Regions from separate parts of the Homo sapiens genome. Here all the other regions are linked to region 1. Evidence: promoter capture Hi-C in 16 types of primary human blood cells and fetal thymus (Javierre and others, 2016). All regions are on one chromosome and are shown on one strand. Each heading gives the region's core, a stretch centred on a gene start or on the middle of the fragment in contact. The rest is flanking DNA. Distances are from core to core; before and after follow the strand shown.

Evidence for each region. Contacts are between HindIII fragments. The CHiCAGO score rates a contact against its expected background, and 5 or more counts as called.
Region 2: a contact is called between a fragment that was not itself captured here and the fragment with the promoter of C1orf122 in region 1, in 2 of 17 cell types (non-activated CD4 T cells and fetal thymus). The highest score is 5.3, in non-activated CD4 T cells.
Region 3: a contact is called between a fragment that was not itself captured here and the fragment with the promoter of C1orf122 in region 1, in 2 of 17 cell types (fetal thymus and monocytes). The highest score is 6.9, in fetal thymus.

What each region holds. Positions count from the first base shown.
Region 1 is chr1:37,804,820-37,809,225 of GRCh38, reverse strand. C1orf122 (chromosome 1 open reading frame 122) reads right to left here and starts at 1,436. Exons shown (of 3, transcript NM_198446.3): 1 at 787-1,436; 2 at 494-695; 3 at 1-248. The coding sequence starts at 821. The coding sequence ends at 153. YRDC (yrdC N6-threonylcarbamoyltransferase domain containing) reads left to right here and starts at 1,018. Exons shown (of 5, transcript NM_024640.4): 1 at 1,018-1,434; 2 at 2,011-2,125; 3 at 2,250-2,369. The coding sequence starts at 1,046. RefSeq lists silencers at 379-928, 1,109-1,368. The HindIII fragment of the contact is 6,155 bases long and covers 1-4,406 here.
Region 2 is chr1:37,594,280-37,598,713 of GRCh38, reverse strand. GNL2 (G protein nucleolar 2) reads left to right here and starts at 2,777. Exons shown (of 16, transcript NM_013285.3): 1 at 2,777-2,955. The coding sequence starts at 2,892. RefSeq lists enhancers at 2,859-3,048, 3,219-3,278. The HindIII fragment of the contact is 1,567 bases long and covers 946-2,512 here.
Region 3 is chr1:38,016,965-38,021,209 of GRCh38, reverse strand. It overlaps UTP11 (UTP11 small subunit processome component), which reads right to left. Exons shown (of 8, transcript NM_016037.4): 3 at 3,440-3,542; 4 at 2,633-2,746; 5 at 2,058-2,151; 6 at 1,827-1,957. Among named protein-coding and RNA genes, the nearest start is that of UTP11, 6.4 kb to the right of the region's middle. The HindIII fragment of the contact is 2,585 bases long and covers 1,294-3,878 here.

The sequences.
Region 1 (4,406 bases), core at 187-2,686:
ACCCAGCTGCTAGCAGAGCTGCCACTCCAGGCTGAGAGCCAAGTACCAGCCACTGCCAGTGAAGACTGGCCCCTTTACTGAAGGGAGTTGTTCAGAGTCCAGCCACCGGCCCTGGGGAGGGAGAGAAGTCAGGGTATTCTGCTCGGGGATGGTCAGGGCTCCGCAGCTCCATCGCCAGCATCCTTTGGAAAGCCGCCTCTGGCGGAGACAGCCGGCTGGGGGGGCGCTCCAGGTTTGGCTGAGACGTTCTAGTTGGAACAGAAAGGAAAAAAGTGAGGCTGGGAGGCAAGGCCTTGGATTAGGCCCCACAAGGATGTGGCCATTTGGCATTTGGATAGTATTAACTTTTTCGAAACCTCTCACCAGATCAAAGGAGGTTAGGGATAAAGCGGCGGAGACATACTTCCCCCCTCCAGGGTAAGCTAGGGCTTGGCCAGCCTAGCCAGTGGGCAGACCCCACCCCACCCCAGCCCAGCCCAGGGTGGGCACTAACCCCGCCACCAGCCGGCTCCGGGCGCCGGCGGCCCAGCTGCCGTAACATCTCCTCGCAGGCTGCGATGGTGTCCAGGAGCTGCCGCTGCCGCTGCTCCACCGCGTCCAGCAGCTGCTGGGCGCGCTCCTCCCGGGGCGGCTGTGGGGGTGGCCTCCCGCCGAGCCCCAGCCCCGCCTTCCCGCGGTCCACGCCGGCAGCCTCCCTGCCCGGGAGAGAGCGAGAGACAGACGGTCAGGGCCGGCGCTTGCGCGGGGCCAAGCCCCTTCCTCCCGCCCCGACGGGCCCCCTCTCACCCCCGTGACCAGTCTGAGCCCGGGCCCCATTCCATCTCCGCTTGCGCGGCCCGACCACCGCCCCCCTTTCGGCCGCCCCCCTCCCCAGCGCTGCGTTAGGGCTTCGCAAGGCTGCGCCCCGCCCCGTCCCCACCGGTCTCCTTCAATCCTCCTGGGGGTCGTGGTCCCTTTAAGCTGCCCGGCGCAGAGGCGGGGCCGAGTCTCCTGGACCGGAAGCTGGCTGGGAGCGTCACTTCCTCCCGGAAGCGGGCCTGGGCGGATGTCTCCGGCGCGTCGGTGCAGGGGGATGAGGGCCGCGGTGGCTGCCAGCGTGGGGTTGAGCGAGGGGCCTGCTGGCTCCCGGAGCGGTCGCCTCTTCCGCCCGCCGAGTCCCGCTCCGGCGGCCCCCGGCGCCCGGCTGTTGCGGCTCCCGGGGAGCGGGGCCGTGCAGGCCGCGAGCCCGGAGCGCGCCGGCTGGACCGAGGCGCTGCGGGCCGCCGTGGCCGAGCTGCGCGCCGGCGCCGTGGTGGCCGTCCCCACCGATACGCTGTACGGCCTGGCCTGCGCGGCGAGCTGCTCGGCGGCTCTGCGCGCTGTGTACCGCCTCAAGGGTCGCAGCGAGGCCAAGCCTCTGGCCGTATGCCTCGGCCGCGTGGCCGACGTCTACAGGTAAGGCCGCCCCGACCCGGCCCCGCTAGGGGCGGCACCGCGGGAGGGGTTTCCGGTGACAGGCTTGGGAGACTGAGGCGCAGAGAGCGGGAGGGGCTTGTCCAGGCTCACCAAGGAATCCGGAACTGGAAATATGTACCGAGGACTTAACGTGCCCCGGGCCCTGAACTACATGCTGCTGGGAAGCAGCAACACACGAGAAAGGCAGGGACCCTGTTCCCTTGGCGTATTTGTGCTAATTGGGGAGGCCCCCGGGAAAAAAGCAAACAAACACAGTAGCTTAATTTAATAGCGAATGCCTTGAAGAAAATAAAACGTGGAGCTTGATCCCACTATCATGATATCACAGCGGTGCAGCTGTTGTAGTCCCTGAGACCAGAGGCACATGGGCGTCAAGCCAGGGGTGCGCCTCTGGAGCCCTGCTTTCTGCTCAAGCTCTTAGGGAGGTGAAGCAGGGAGACAGGCGGCTCCCATTGTAAACTCGAAGGATTCCTTTTCTACGTCTGCCTAGAGTCTAGGAAAGGACCACCAGTGGCCCTTCAATTTTGAATGGATTTATTCTTCTGTGTTTCCCAGATACTGCCGTGTGAGAGTACCTGAGGGGCTCCTGAAAGACCTACTGCCAGGACCAGTGACCCTGGTGATGGAACGCTCGGAGGAGCTCAACAAGGACCTAAACCCTTTTACGCCTGTGAGTCAAGTTTTCTCTTGTGTCCCCAGACTCCAGGCCACTTGGCTTTCACTAGGATCCAGATAAGACTTACCCTCTTATCCCTTCCAACCTTTCTCATGATCCCTTTCCCCTTGCCTTACAGCTTGTAGGCATTCGGATTCCTGATCATGCTTTTATGCAAGACTTGGCTCAGATGTTTGAGGGTCCGCTTGCTCTCACTAGTGCCAACCTCAGCTCCCAGGCCAGTTCTCTGAATGTCGAGGTGAGTTTACCCAGTCCTTCCCCTGGAAATGTCACCAGCGCACATACTGTTTTCTGTGAATCAGTGGCATTGATAGTACACTGGGATGGCCAGGCATGAGAGTTCTTGGGCCAACAGTGGGAAGGTTGCCCAGCTGGCAGGGAGGTGGTGGGGGGCAATATAAATTAAAAAAATTTGAAAGATTTTATCTCAAAGTCTGAAAAGCCAGGGGGAGAATTGGTCTTTTCTTCAGTCTTTATAATAATAGGAAAGATTATAAGAACAATGTCTTCCTGTTTTTCTGGAGATAACAGTTTCTGGAGAACACAGTTAGGCTATAAATCTTCACGACAGTGCTGTAAAGAAAGATGAAGAAGGCCAAGGGCAGTGGCTCATGCCTGTGACCCCAGCACTTTGGGAGGCCCAAGCAGGTGGATCATGTGAGGTCAGGAGTTTGAGACCAGCCTGGCTAACATGGCAAAACTCCATCTCTAATAAAAAATACAAAGATTAGCCAGACATGGTGGCGCATGCCTGTAATCCCAGCTACTTGGGAGGCTGAGGCAGGAGAATCACTTGAACCTGGGAGGCAGAGGTTACAGTGAGCTCAGATTGTGCCACTGTACTCCAGGCAGGGCTCTAGAGCGAGACTCTGTCTCTTAAAAAAAAAAAAAAAGATGAAGTTTAGCCTCCAGAAAGTTAAATCACTTGTTCCAGGTCACACAGCCATTAAGTGACTGACTCAGATTTTTAACCAGTTTTTGATTCTCGCCCCTGTTCTCTTATCTCTGCCACAAGCCAGATCAAAGAAAGGATCATCCTAATCCTTTCTTGGCTACATAGATTAGAACAAAGGAGGACACATAGAAATTTCGTTTTTTTTCTTATTACTAAGATGTAAAACGTAGTAATAAGCTACATTGTGTCCCCAGACTCGGCCAGACACATAGTATCACACATAGTATCCAGCATCAGGCCTTGGGCCTTCCTTGGGCTTATTACATCCAGCTAATAAGCCTGGATAGAGTAACTTGCGTGCAGTCACATAGAGATACGATGGAAAGTCCAGAGTTAGAGCCCGTATCCCTGCTCAGAACTCCATTCGATGGGTTTTCCATTCCCAGACCTAGAGTGGGGCTCAGGGTTCTTAGAAAGTGAGAGTTCAGCATCCCTTCCCATTCTCAGAGTGCAGGTTTGACTTGGTCCTGGTGGCTGTACCCCAGGAGCAAGAATCGGGATGTGGCACAGGGAGGGGAGGTTTTTACCTTGTCAGCAATCATTTGACCTGTCCAACACAGTAACTGGTATTTATGATTTCCTGTCCCAGATTTCCAGGCCTAACTGCCACTGCAGTGTCTTCCTTGGGGGGTTGGGGAAGCTCTAGCTCAGTTAACAATTCAGTCCACTGCTCTAGGGGGAGTATCCTTCTCATAGCCCAAAGACTGAGTGCTGGTGGCATGCAGAATCTACCATGTTCTACTCTTCCTACCCTGATCAGAGTCGCAGTGAGATCCAGGAGCATAGTTCTAGAGCTAGAAGGAGCTGGAATCACTTGTTCCAGGTTACGCAGCCATTAAGTGACCAGATTTTTACCTAGTTTTTTTTTGTTTTGTTTTGTTTGAGACAGTCTCACTCTCTTGCCCAGGCTGGAGTGCAGTGGCACCATCTCAGCTCACTGCAACCTCCATCTCCCGGGTTCAAACAGTTCTCCTGCCTCAGCCTCCCGAGTGAGTAGCTGGGATTACAGGCGTGTGCCACCATGCCCGGCTAATTTTTGTATTTTTAGTAGAGATGGGGTTTCACTATGTTGACCAGGCTAGTCTCAAACTCCTGGCCTCAAGAGATCCAGCCTCCCAAAGTGCTGAGATTACAGGCGTGAGCCACCATGCCTGGTCTTTTTACCTAGTTTTTGACTCTTGACCCTGTTCTCTTATCTTTGCGGCAAGCCAGGTCAAAGAAAAGATCATCCTAGTCCTGTCTTGGCTACATAGATTAGAACAAATGAAATGAGGACATAGGATCATCTAGTCCAGCCCACTTGTCTTGTAGGCCTGGATA
Region 2 (4,434 bases), core at 480-2,979, 210 kb after region 1:
TGTAATCCCAGCTACTTGGGAGGCTGAGGCATGAGAATAGCTTGAATCTAGGAGGCAGAGTTTGCAGTGAGCTGAGATCATGCCACTGCACTCCAGCCTGGTGAAAGGGCAAGACTCCATCTCAAAAAAAAAAAAAAAAAAAAGAAGAAAAATAGAAAGCATCCCATCTGCATGATGTGTACCATGTCTGCGATGCTTTCATATACTGTAACTCATATGATCTTATTGCAGTCTTTCAGAGTAGTTAAGCTATTGCATCTGTTTTAAAGCTGAGGAACTGTAGACCTGGAGGTGTATCTTGCCTCTGCTAGTTGGCATGACATCAGAAAAGAGAGTGAAAAATAGTCACTGCATTACAATGCGGCAAGCAGGGCAGGCAAATCAAACCAGTAACTTAAGCTTGACTTACCTTGATCAGGCTTTTTATCTGCTGGTAGAATTGAAGTTGGTTGTCGAGATCGGCAAATATTGTTGTAAAAGGATTGATGGGTCAGATTATAAAAATAGATGGAAAGTTTGTAAGATAAATGCAAGCAGAGTATGAGAACAGGAGAGAAACAACCCACCATATCATCTGGGAAAATGAAACTCCTTGGCAAGACTTCACAACAGCCTGATTCAAAATTTCATAATGAAATTATGTCTCTGATCAAAGCCTGAATGAGCTCATAGGCTGATTTTTGCCATCCGTGTTTATTCTGGTTTGCACCAACTTGAGGCATCAGAAACACATTAACTGAATCTTCTCTCTGGGAGGAGGCTATGGTATCCTTGTTTTGGGGATCAGAGGGACAGTGTGGGGTGGAAGGGGGCATCTTCACTGATCATGAAGTTTTTTCCAAATAGCTCTCAGAGCTTCCCTAACACAGGTCACAGTCAGGGCCTTCCCAGCAGAGCTGCATTTAATCTCATGATACTTGCCCTTGGGGCAATAAAAGCGAAGCTTGAGGGACAGAAGGTATTTCCAGCTCTAGCCTATGACATGGCCTGCTTTTGCTCTAAAGAGAATGTTTTGGGGTTTGTTTCAAACTCAGAGAAATAAAGACTCAATCATCCCCTGCTCAATTAGAATACCTCACTTTATAACAAATTGTTTGTTTTTATGAAATGAGCTACACTGCATGAATCCACCCTTCCTCTTGCCTAACCATCTCTTCTTTGGCCTATCCAGAGGGTACAAAGATGGCCATTTTCTGACAATTTGAGGTACCAAAAAAGAGAGAGGGACCAGGCGAGGTGGCTCACACTTGTAATCCCAGCACTTTGGGAGGCTGAGGCAGGTGGATCACCTGAGGTCAGGAGTTTGAGACCAGCCTGGCCAATGTGGTGAAAGCCCGTCTCTACTAAAAATACAAAAATTAGCTGGGCATGATACCATGCGCCTGTAATCTCAGCTACTTGGGAGGCTGAGGCAGGAGAATTGCTTGAACCCGGGAGGTGGAGGTTGCAGTGAACCGAGACCGGGCCACTGCACTCCAGCCTGGGCAACAAGAGCGAGACTCCGTCTCAAAAAACAAAAACAAAAACAAACAAACAAAAAATAAATTGTAAAAAGAGAGAGGGCTTCTTGGTTCAAACACTGGCATCTAGACACTTTATTCTGGCTAGTAGAAACAGAAATCACTGGGTCTTAATGCCTTCCTTCATCCTCAAGGCAAGAGACATTCCCATCTACTCATTCTTTCACTTAATGAATATTTTTTGAGTCCTTTGTTTCAGATGCTATTCAAGTCTTAAAGACACAGCAGTGAACAAATTAACAAGGTCCCTGCTTTTAAGAATCTTACATTCTAGTTTGGGGGAAGCAGCCAATAAACTTGTAAAAAAAATTCAACTAGTGATAAATGCCATGAAATAAATAAAACAGAATACTGTAACAGAATAACTGTGAAAGGGTGAAAGGTGGCTGATTTAGACAAATTAGACAGGAATGAGTTCTCACAGCAGGAAGGGTCACCAGATAAAATACAGAACGTACAGTTACATTTGAATTTCAGGCAAACGATGAATACTTTTTTAGTCTAAGTATTTTCCAGGCACTGTTGGAGGTGTACTAAAGAAAAGTATTCATTTTTTTTCTCTGAAATTCTAATTTAATTTGGTGTCCTGTATTTCTATTTGCTAATTCTTGCAGGCCTACCAATAGGTGATATTTGAGCTTAGGATTGAATGACAGCTATGCAAAGATTCTGGGAAAGAGTGATTCAGGCAGAGAGAATATCCAGTGTAAATGTCAGAATAACCAGAGGGAGGGACGTACACATGAGATTAGATAAATAGGCAGGCAGGGGCCAGATCACAGAATCCTGTAGGGATGGCAAAAAGTTTGAATCAATCTCTGTCTCTGTCTGTTTCTCCCTTCTCCCTTCCCCTACCTCTCATTCTAAGAGTGATGATAAGCCACTGGAGTTGTAAGGAAGAGAATGACACCTCCTAACGGATATTTGGCTGCTGTGTGGTCGGCAACTTTTGGAAGGACTTAGAAGACAAATTCAGAAGACAAACTTAAGCTTGTGCCACTGGCCTGGGAAGAAGCTTCTTTATTCGGAGGTGGACCCAACTGGGAGCTCTGGCCGCGCGTTCAGGTTAACTAGGCGGTTGCTATGAACGGGCAGCTTGGCGGTTGCTAGGGCTGGAGCGGGCTGGGGCTCCACGCAGGGCGACGCCTAGGCGGCTGGAGCGGGGGCGGAGCCAGGAGGGTGACGGCGCGCGCCGCGCGTTCACAGGAAGTCGCTCTGAGGCCGAGAGGGACGCGAGCGGAAGTGACGTACGTCGTGCACACGTGGTCCGGCGTGGTTCAGGCGGGTGTCTTCGGCCGGGCTTGGGAACATAAAAGTTTGTTTCACCACGTAAGCCGGACCTCGCACTCCGGTCCCGGTCTCGTCGCCAAGATGGTGAAGCCCAAGTACAAAGGACGGAGCACCATCAACCCGTCCAAGGCCAGCACAAACCCAGGTACAGGCGGCAGGGCTGATCGAGGGTGGAGCTTGGAGGAAGTATAGGGAAGGGCTCCGAGGAGCACTGGAGGGGAAGGAGGGTTACTCGAGTGGCATTGCTTAGAATGACTACGAGCGGGGTGGCTGTTGGGGATGAAAAGGGAAAAAGGAAAGCAATATTTGTGGTGGTTTCTTCTCAGGGGGGAACTGAGGAGGGCTCAGTGCACGCCTGGCAGGCCAAAGTGTAGTCAACTGGTCTGAAGTCAAGGAAAGTGAACACTCAGGCTGACAGCCTTGGGTCCTCTCCAGTTGAGAGATGCAGAGAAAGTCAGATTAAAAATGGTGTAGGTTGACCCTTCGGGCCTTTTACACGTGATCATACTTGCCTGCCACCTTAGCTTTGACCTTTAAAATGAGAAAGGGCTTATAGTTTTGGCCCTTGGAATTATTCTATCTGGTAAAGTGCTTAGAGAACCCTACAAAGAAGTCAGTATGATCATTGCAGTAAGGCTGTTTAGGAGATGTGTGTAAGTTTTGGCGAGGTTCCACCTGTACGATTAACAAGACATCCTATGGGAGAGTTCCTTCCATTCAGGTTTAATTAATAAAACTTTGTTTTAAAATATGGTTTAGAATTTTTGACAATTTTAATGCAAGTTGAATGTTTATTCCGGATTGATAATAAATTATTCACTTTGCACAAACTGGAATCTCAGAATGTTAGACCCCAAAAGGCCCTTAGAGATTATGATTTTACAGGTGAAGAGACTGAATCAAAATACAGGAAGTGGCCTGTCATAATTGCAACAGTTAGTGAGTAGTAGTAGAGCCGCCAGTTTCTACTGTTAGAGACTGTTAGGAGAGCCAATGGGCTGTGGTTTCAGCCTGTCTTCTACTGTATCACTTCAGGACCAGACAGGTGATTTAAGGGGCTCCTGGCCAGGTGTGGTGGCTCACGCCTGTAATCCCAGCACTTTGGGAGGCCGAGGCGGTCGGATCACCCGAGGTCAGGAGTTCAAGACCAGCCTGACCAACATGATGAAACCCCCTCTCTACAAAAATACAAAGATTAGCCGGGCATGATGGCGGATGCCCGTAATCCCAGCTACTCGGGAGGCTGAGGTGGAAGAATTGCATGAACCGGGGAGGTGGAGGTTGTAGTGAGCTGAGATCGCGACACTGCACTCCAGCCTGGGTGACAGAGCACGACTCTGTCTCAAAAAAAAGATAATAATAATGAATAAATGAATAAATAGGTAAATAAAGGGCTCCCAAAATGAGAAGCTAGGCTAGTATTACCCTATTCGTTTGTCCTTCTCTTTCTCTTTGAGATGTAAGGCAAGAATTGCTGTGTTGATTAAACAAAAATCAAACATTAAGAAAGTAAGAACACATATATCAAAATTATAGTCTCCATGGTGCCTTGCATGGAGCAGGCACTCAATATTTGTTAAACTGAGACACAGAGGTAGGTATCTTCGTGGTTAAGACCATAGAT
Region 3 (4,245 bases), core at 1,337-3,836, 210 kb before region 1:
GTAGCTCACGCCTGTAATCCCTGCACTTTGGGAGGCTGAGGTGGGTGGATCACAAGGTCAGGAGTTCAAGACCAGCCTAGCCAAAATGGTGAAACCCTGTCTCTACTAAATATACAAAAAATTAGCCAGGCGTGGTGGCGGGCACCTGTAATCCCAGCTACTCGGGAGGCTGAGGCAAGAGAATTGCTTGAACCCAGGAGGCAGAGGTTGCAGTGAGCCGATATCACGCCACCGCACTCCAGCCTGGGTGACAGAGTGAGACTCCGTCTCAAAAAAAAAAAAAAGTACACCTAATTGACAAACAACAGGGTTATCACAAGAACACTCATGAGCAAGCTCTTTGGCTGGAAGTGTTATCTACAGAAGGAAATATTACTGGGCCTTAGACTTCAACAATTCACAGATTCTAGCACAGTCTCACAGCAGTGGTTTCAGACAGCTTTTGTTTTCGCTTTATTGCACAGACTGTCAGATTTATGGGATTACCCAATATAGTCAAACTAATTAGGGGTATTTATATTACTAAAGCAAGTTTAGCTGCCTCTGAGCTAGAGAAAACTGCTGTGAAATTAAACATTGGAAGCAAAACTGATGCAGTGTAAATGATTCAAATCAAAACAGAACAGCTGTCTGCTTGAAACACATTGACAGCATTTTTTTTTAATGAATCAGTCAGAAGAGTTCAACTCCAGAAGGCTTTCAGGAAAAGCATGTCTTCTGCACAACCCAGTTACAGTGACGGAAAGCACCATAAGGAAAAGCCAAAACAAAATTTTTGTTACAATACACAATATGAAAGACCTTTTGGGCAGGCATGGTGGCTCACGCCTGTAATCCCAACACTTCAGGAGGCCAAGGCGGGAGTAAACACTTGAGCTCAGGAGTTTAAGACCAGCCTGGGCAACTTAGCGAGACCCCGTTTCTACAAAAAAAATTTAAAATTAGCTAGGCATGGTGGCACACACCTGTGGTCCCAGCTACCCAGGAGGCTGAGGCAGGAGGATCGCTTAAGCCCAGAAGGTGGAGACTGCAGTGAGCCATAATCACACCATTGCACTCCAGCCTGGGTGACAGTGAGACCCTGTCTCAAGAAAAATAAAAACACAGAAAGACCTTTTGATGTGCGTATTCACTGCTAAAGGTTCAATATTAAAGTATTGCAAATCCTTTAATCTTCAGCAATCCCTTTCTCTGCATTTTCAAAACACTGGCATCTGTTACAAGTATTAAAAGCACAAAGCGCAGGGTCAGAATTGGGATTCAAACCCAGGTCTAAAGGCCAGAACCTAAGCTTCTGACCACTATACCTCCTCCGATCATAGAAATTAGGAAGCCCTTCTCCACTTCCATCCCATCATCAAATCATCCTACAAATCCACTTTTCTAAGGGAACTCATGAGTTTTCCATAAATAAATAATTATTTTAGGCCAGGCACAGTGGCTCACGCTTGTAATCCCGACACTTTGGGAGGCCAAGGCAGGCAGATCAACTGAGGTCAGGAGTTCAAGACCAGCCTGGCCAACATGGCGAAACCCCATCTCTATGAAAAATACAGAAATAAGCTGGGTGTGGTGTTGCACCCCTATAGTCCCAGTTACTGGGGAGGCTGAGGCATGAGAATTGCTTGAACCCAGGAGGCGGAGGTTGCAGTGAGCCGAGATCGTGCCACTGCACTCCAGCCTGGGAGACAGTGAGACTCTGACTAAAAAATAAAATAAAATAAATTTTAAAAATTATTTTAAATGCAGTAGCAAAAAAAAAAAAACAAAAAAAAAACACCTAGATTCCCCTAAGCTCACATGTGAAGAACAACAGAGAAAATTACCTTAAGTCCAGTCTGATTGGTAACTCCTTTCACTTTTTCTTTCTGCAAGGTCTCTATCCTGGGCCTATTAAAGACTCTGTCGACTAGCTCCGGGGCTGTTTGCAGGTGAGTTGCGACATCAAACTGTTCAACTAAAATTCAAGACAATCCTTAAGGCACTGTCGGTTTCTAACACCAAATGACACAGACTGGCATGGTAGACTGTCCCAGAAACCTTCAAACATTTCATACCTTCCTTTTTGGTGTCAAAAAAGAACACATGCTTGTTCTGTTGCTTCCCCTGGAAATCCAGCAGATGGAGCTCTGATTTTAGTCTTTCGATTTTCTAGAACACAGAATATGGTCTCACTTTATATTAGATTCTTCTAGGGTACCAAAAAAAAAAAAAAACTGCAAAAGTTTAAACCATTTCACATCATTATTGCCAGCCAGCAAAGAACTTGCTTTATTCTTTTAAAGGAAAGGATCCCAACAAATATCAGGTATTGGGCTAGGCACTTCCCAAGACGCACTTAATCCCTGCAACAGTCGCCTGAGACAGAAATGAGGGAAGAGCCTCAGGGAGTTGAATTTGCCCATTGTCATGGGGCTAGTAATTTATGGCAGTGCCAGAACTCAAACCCTAGGTCTGTCTCATTCCCAAACCTGAACTCTTTCCACTCTACCATGCTAACTATACTTCTAAATCATTATTACAATCAAGTGAGATTGTAAATGCCAGAAGAAATTAATGAATAACTTGAGATTGATGAATTTAAGTTTCCCTTCTTAACCAATAAAACCAATCAGAACAAAGAGTGAATTACCTTAGCTTCTGCAACCCTCTTCATTTCTATATATTTGACGTCCTGAGTTCTCATCAGCTTTAGTTGTTCTGGGGTTACTTCTTCCTTAGTCTCCTTAATAATATGTACTCCATCCTAAAATCCAAATTTAAAAGATATATTCCCTATTAGATTAAAATCATTAATAAGTTGTTGGCACAGTGCACGGCTAGAACAAAGACAACCATAGGCCAAGTGCGGTCACTCACACCTGTAATCCCAGCACTTTGGGAGACCGAGATGGGCAGATCACTTGAGGTCAGGAGTTCAAGACCAGCCTGACCAACATGGTGAAACCCCGTCTCTACTAAAAATACAAAAACTTAGCCGGGCACAGTAGTGTGTGCCTGTAGTTCAGCTACTCGAGAGGCTGAGGCACGAGAATCACTTGAACCCGGGAGGCAGAGGTTGCAGGGAGCCGAGGTCGCACCACTGCACTCCAGCCTGGGCAACAGAGAGTGAGTCCATCTCAAAAAAAAAAACAAAAAGACAACCAAATGCTGTATGCTAACAGCAATCCTAGACACAGGCCCCTGAGGCGTACGTTCAATGTAGCACCTCCAGTCATCTGTCCTAGAACAGCTCCAGGTATAAGACAACCCAGATTCAAAGGTAAAAATGCACGCTCCTCTGGAAGTGGAGGGTTTGCCTTGGACACTGACCAAGAGCACCTGGAGTAACCAGAGAAGGGTTAAATTAAGGCCAACGATTCTTCCTCTCCATCTCCTCCCTGTCCTTATTTTCCAATGTGTGGAGCTCAAAACACCAACCAAGCCATTGGGCACCCACCTGGAGTTTAACCCGAGTCATTTTGTAGTAGAATTCATCTGGATTTTTTTCAAGAGCCTTCTTCCGAAGAGCTTTGAGGTATTCTTGTTTTTTACGGTAGTCACTAAAAGACAGGTTAAATGAGGTTCATAGCAAAAAAAAAAAAATAGATAATTTTAAAAAACCAAAAACCCACAATAAGCAAACTTTACAAGCATCTAAAAGGTCACACAGAGTGAAACTCAAAAAAGCCAAAAGCACTGACTGGATCTGGACACTCCACTGTCACTGAGCTGAGCTCATGTCTTCGCAGGGTCCACAGTCTAATCAACAGTTCCTATTCCAGTGGAACCTGAAATTAACTGTCCCCAGCCTATATATGTTTCAGTGCCATTTATATCATTACAGGGAGACACCAAACAAAGTACAAATTAAAACTCCTTAGGATATGGTGCAAGCTTGGGCACCAAATGACCATATGTAATTCAGAAACTACACAGTACAGTATAGCGCAATGACTAGAATCATGGACTCTGGAGCCAGACAGCATGGGTTCAAATCTGGACTTGACAACTTCTGGCTAAGTAACCTTGGATAAGTTATTTAACCATCCTGAATCCCAATTTCATTTGTAAAATGAATACGGTAATAGTAACCCATCCCAGAAGGTTGTTGGGAGGGACAAATCAGTGTAAAAACGGTAAATATCCTAGAACACTGCCTGGCCCAATAACAATACTTAATTATCATTAGCCTTAAAATCTCTGGGACCTACAGAAACCCATTTAATCCATCACCACCATCTAGACCAGGGGCATAAAAAGGAC